2 separate regions of the Homo sapiens genome follow, and region 2 is linked to region 1. Evidence: promoter capture Hi-C in human tissues and cell types (Jung and others, 2019). All regions are on one chromosome and are shown on one strand. The core of a region is centred on a gene start or on the middle of the fragment in contact, and the rest is flanking DNA. Distances in the headings are between cores, read along the strand shown. Region 1 holds the start of LOXL1 (lysyl oxidase like 1). Region 2 has its middle 22 kb from the start of INSYN1-AS1.

Region 1 (2,700 bases), core at 1-2,500:
ACCAGCCCAGGCGTGGGTCTCCGCCATGGGCCTGCGCCGCCTCGGGACCGGGGTCAGGGTAGGCCTGCTCGAAGCCGGGGGTGCCCTCGCTGTACAGACTGTGCGAGTAGCGGCGGTCCAGGCCGTCGGGGGGCGGCGGCGGCGGCGGCACGTAGGGCCTCTCGGGGGCCGGGTAGAAGCCCTGAGGCGGGTACTCGGGCAGCTCTTCGCCGCCGCCGTACTCCTCGTAGCGCGCCCGGGGCTGGTAGGGGTAGATGACCCCCGCCGAGGCCACGGCCGCCGCCCCCGCGCCCACGCCGCCGCCCGCGGGCCGGTAGTACACGAAACCCTGGTCGTAGGTCCGCGACGCGGGGTCGTAGTTCTCGTACTGGCTGACGAAGGGCGCCTGCGGGTAGGGGAACTGCTGCGGGTAGGAGGGCTGCTGGCGGTAGGTGCTGGCGAAGGCCGAAGCCGAGACCGAGGAGGCGGAGCCCCCGTGCCGTTGCTGGGAGACGGAGGTGCGGGCCCGGGCCATGCCCGTGCTGTCCCCGACGGCCACCTCGCGCCAGTTGTCGGGCACCTGGCCAAAGCCGAATGGGTGCCGCGCCTGGCCGCGCACGGTGTCCGAGCCCACGCGCCCCGGCAGGGGCAGGGACGGCGCCTGCCGACGCCGGGGGCTCCCGTGGCTGCGCCGCTGCTGGGCCTGGGGCGCGCCGGCCAGCAGCACCCGGGAGCTACTCTCGGAGCGCTGAGGTCCGGCCGGCACGTACTCTGAGCCCGAGTTGAGCAAGCTGTACACCTGCCCGTTGTTCTCCCACTGGATCAGCTGCCGCCAGCGGGCGGGGTCCGAGCCCTGCCCGGGCTGCGCCTGCTGCCCGTGCACCAGCACGCACAGGCAGGCGCCCCACACCAGGGCCCCCAGCTGCCGGCTGCCTCGGGCCAGAGCCATGGTGACCCCTCTGCAGAGGCCTGGTGGACAGAGAGGCTCTCAGGAGTGGCCCCCTGGGCGTGCTTCTCTTCCCACGGCCTCGAGGACAGGAAGGCTCCTTGCTTGCCCCAGCTCTAGCTTTGTCCATGCTGGCCTTGTCCCGAGCGGGACGGCTCCTCCGATGACAGCATTTCAAGGCCAAGGGGTCAGGGCAGGGCAGGGGCGGTGCCCAGGGCTGCACGAGGCTCTCCGCAGGGCACCGGGCGGGCAGGACCGCCTGTGGGCCTTACATGGCCAGCCCCGCACTGGCTGGCCGCTCGGCTGGCGCTTTCCCACTCTGAATGAATAAGCAACAGGCTGGGAGCGTCGGGAGGCTTCGGCCTCCTGGTCCGCCTGCTGGGGCCTCCTCCGCGGGGCCCTATGGCCCGCCGGCTTTTAGCTATGCGCCGGTCCCACAGCTGCAGTGCTCCCTCAGTCCCTGGAGTTCCCAGCCAAGCCACAGACCTGCCTCTGAGGAAGGGAATCGAGCAGGGAGTAGGAGGGGACCTCTGGGGACTCGGGCCTGGTAAGTGGGGCTCTGGCAGGCAGAACGGGGCTGGGGTGTCAGCACCACCCCGCCCATTCCTCTCTGCTTTGGTCACAGCATCCCTGGTCTCCACCTTGCTCACTGGCTTCTCGTTTGGGCTGGAATGGGCCTCTGACTCCTGTCTGCCCCAGCCTCCTTCCCGTACTCCCGGGTTCTCCCTTTTCCTTGTTCCCTAAAGCCAGTGCTAATTAAGACACACCCTCTTTGCATGTTCCTTCCACCATTATCCCACACCCTCAATAGGAAGAAAAAAAAAAAAAAGACACACCCTCTTTGTTGGTGGGCCTCCTCGGGGAGATGCTGAACAGGGACCACTCTCTAATTCCAGGTCCCAGGTGCACCGCAGCTCTTGGGCCTGCGAAGAGAGGCACTGGAGCTGCACCTTTTCCCTCGTGGCACACCTCAGGGGCTTACTTTCCCAGTCTGAAGAGTGGGGTGTATCCCTGAGCTGAAAAGCACTTGTGAGATCCTGGGAGAGATCAACTTCCCAGACATCACGTATGGTTTCTGTCCTACATCTCTTGGCTCTGCATAGCCTGGGAATAACTTGAGTGTACACATGGATAAAATGAAACTGGGGGCTGTCTTTGATATGGGACAGGGGTCACTGTGAGGCAGAGAAGCCAGTAAGCATTGAACAACAGAAGGGGGTTCCGGAGACCTGGCCTGGTCCTGTTGCTGTGTGGCTTAGTCCCTTACTCTATCTGATCCAGGTGCCACGGCTTACCAATGGAAGATTAGGCCAGATGGCTCCTGAGAGTGCTTTGGGAGATTCTCTGTTCCTTCTGGGAATGGCAGGGATAGGAGGGGGTCCCAGAAGTTTGAACGCTTTGGCATCCAAGAAATCACACTCCAAATACTGCTCTTCTGGCCTCCCCTGGGCTGCCTTCTCCAACCGTGTTCCTGGGAACCGAAGGGCAGAAATTGCCCTCTTGGGCTTATAAACAAGGTATGAAGGACCTGTCCTTAATTTGGCTCCTGTATATTCTTTATTTTGGAAATGCCTGGAGCCCACCTAGAGAGGAGGCAACTAGAGTGGACATTCTTTGGGAACTATAGACCTCCCAACCCCATCCTTGCCAGGCAGCATTTGTTCACCCATTGCACTGTTCTTCAGGACTGAGGCTTGGACTCCAGCATGTCTCTACCCTTTAAATGCCCAGAATCCAGCCCAGAGGTAGGGGGCTTCCAATACCTCCTGGCCAGC
Region 2 (2,700 bases), core at 138-2,637, 140 kb after region 1:
AAATGGAGAACAGATTATCTGTTTTGTTGGATGGGGCAGGAAGGGCTGGCTGGTGGTTAGAATTCTGTCCTCTTAGGAAACATCCAAATGAAAGATGGGTGGGAGAGGAAGCCAAAAACAATGAAAGAATCCTGGAGGGTTGTGATGGGAGAGGCTAAGAAGTGGGCCATGGGACTGCTGGAGAAGGCAGGAAGAGGCACACAGAGCCTGGACAGCAAAGGGCCCTTGGAGCAGAGTAGGGCAGACAGGAGGGAGTGCTACAAGCTTCATCTAGGAGACTGGGGTCTTCATCCCAAATCTGGGGACTGAAGGGACCAGGGCTGCAGGGCTCATCTGCCCACCAGAGAGCACAAGCAGCAGGCAGGTAGAGTCTTGAAGCCTCTGAGAAAAGCTGATGGTCATCAAAGGGGTGAGATTTTGCCCCAAGAGGCTTCCCTATCCCAAGCTTTCCTGACTCCAGGGAAGTTTCCCAGGACCCAGTGACTTCCTTGGCCGTGGATGAGCAGGGAGACTGGTCCCTTTGACTCTCTGACTCAAACCTGAATCAGGAGGGCAGGACTGGAACCAGGTGTAAAGTGTTTAGATCCTGAGCCTCTAGTATGATGGTTATAATGGATAAAGCAGAGTTTGCCATTTCCTGAGCATTCACTAAGTGCCACATTCAGAGCTAGGTGTTTTTCACCTGTTAAGCCTTCCCAACCTATGAGGCACTGCTATGGTTTGTATATGTGCCCCAAAAGGTATGTGTTGTAAACTTAATTCCCAATGCAATAATGTTTAGTGGTGGGGTCTAATGAGAGGTGATTAGGCCATAAGGGCTCTGCCCTCATGAATGGATTAATGTCATTATCATAGGAGCGGGTTTGTTATCTTGGGAGTGGGTTCCTTATAAAAGGACAAGTTTGGCCCCCTTTTACGCTCCACCCACTTCCCCATGTGCACATGCCTTCTCTGCTTCCACCATGGGATGATACAGCAAGAAGGCCCTTATTAGATGCTGACACCTTGATCTTGGACTCCACAGCCTCCAGAATCATGAACCAATAAATACTTCTTCATTTTAAGTTACCCAGTCTCAAGAATTCTGTTACAGCAGCACAGAATGAACTAAGGCAGGTGCCTCCCCTTGTCCTCATTTACAGGTAAGCAACTCAAGGTTTGCAGGATCAGGATATTGCTCCAGGTGAGTTGGCAAGTGGTAAGCCAGGATTTGAACTCAGCCTGTTTTGCCTTACCTTGCTCTTAGCAGGCAGTCCCTGAGCCTGTAGTCTTGCTCTAAAGGAAAGTCAAGGCCTGGAAAAGATTAGTCTCTGACAGCAGCTCCAGGCTGAACTCTGATCGCATTCATAGACTGAGTCGTGACTCTGTCCATGCAGTGGCTCCTGACCCTGGGCACACACTGAGCCCTGACTCTGGTCATAGACCAAGCCCCAACCCTGATCGTACACTGAGCCTTGACCCTGGCCTCACACTGAGCCCCGATGGAAGTCTACATTCAGAATAAAGGCCAGCACCAATATTTGTTGAATAGATAGTTGCTGTTGGGCTCCTGAGAGATATGCACAGATCATGACCTCCTCAGTAAGGATTTGGGAAGTTTATGCCACATGAGACGCTGATGAGGGAACACTTGAAGTTTATTGGAGATCTCAGGGTCCAGATGTGTCTTTTCCAGTGGTCACTCTCTGAGTCTTGGAAGATAGGCCTTCAGAGACACACCTGGCAGGCATCCAGCAGCTAGGACAGCTAGAGTGAGGCAGCTCTGCCTGTAGTCTAAGGCTTCTGGGAAGGCCATGGCTGGCACTACATTGGCCTAGGCAAGGACAGCCATGTCTGCCCAACCAGTTCACCAGTCCTGCTACCTGAAGCCTAGGCCACTTGATCAGGGGAGAGAAGGAGCTGTCACAGGGACCCTTCCTCAGGAGCTCTGGGCAAGACTAGCAAGAGAGGTACCCTCCTGCGTGACACCCCCAGGAAGAGACCTATTGCCCTCTAGGCAAAGTCAGGTGCATTTTCCAGACTTTGTGCTAGCATCCCACAGCAGGATCTAAAGAGGGAAAGCAGCCATCCGCAGTCCTTCCACACCTCTTTAAGAAGCCGTCTTGGCATCTCCAGTCCTCTTAGAGCTCTCCATCCTCCTCCCACCTGGCATCAAGGGCCCAAGGCTTCTCCTTTTACAAGGTCATATTCTGTTTTCACAACCATGCAGTCCCACATGTTGGAGTAACTGATGGAATGAATGAATGAATCAACACGTTCGTTAGGGGTTAGCTGGCTTGTTGTGTCGATAAAGTCTCTGTCAACGTCACAGATCCTCCAGAATGGCATTTCCACCCCTCCCCAGTAGCTTGGCCTCAATTCCTCTGTCCCTTCACTGCAGACATCTTGCTCATCCAGCTGTGGTGCATGGGGTTGTTAAACGGCTGGGGGATCCTGAGCAAGTCACTTCCCTCTCTGTGTAGTTCCCTCATAGCAACTTAGGATAGCAATAGTGCCAAGCTCCAAGGTCTACTGCAAAGGTTAAATGTGGTGGTGCATGTAAAGCAGTTTATAAATGAGTGGCGTTCAGCAAAGCACCTACTGCCGTGCCTGGCACCTAGCAGGTGTCAATGCAGCAGAGTCCCAGTTTCCACTCTCTGCCTGCCACCTTCTCTATACTCCAATTGGCAAGAGGTGGGTGGGGCTGTCCTTGACTGGCCA

The links. Contacts are between HindIII fragments. The study calls those that stand out against the background at their distance.
Region 2: a fragment that was not itself captured here is called in contact with the fragment with the promoter of LOXL1 in region 1 in 1 of the 25 tissues and cell types used here (H1 embryonic stem cells).

Annotation. Positions count from the first base shown.
Region 1 is chr15:73,925,012-73,927,711 of GRCh38, reverse strand. LOXL1 (lysyl oxidase like 1) reads right to left here and starts at 1,250. Exons shown (of 7, transcript NM_005576.4): 1 at 1-1,250. The coding sequence starts at 928. All of the region lies in intron 1 of LOXL1-AS1 (LOXL1 antisense RNA 1), which reads left to right. RefSeq lists a silencer at 1-2 and an enhancer at 1-744. The HindIII fragment of the contact is 8,654 bases long and covers 1-2,700 here.
Region 2 is chr15:73,788,734-73,791,433 of GRCh38, reverse strand. No RefSeq gene overlaps it. Among named protein-coding and RNA genes, the nearest start is that of INSYN1-AS1, 22 kb to the right of the region's middle. The HindIII fragment of the contact is 3,541 bases long and covers 1-2,700 here.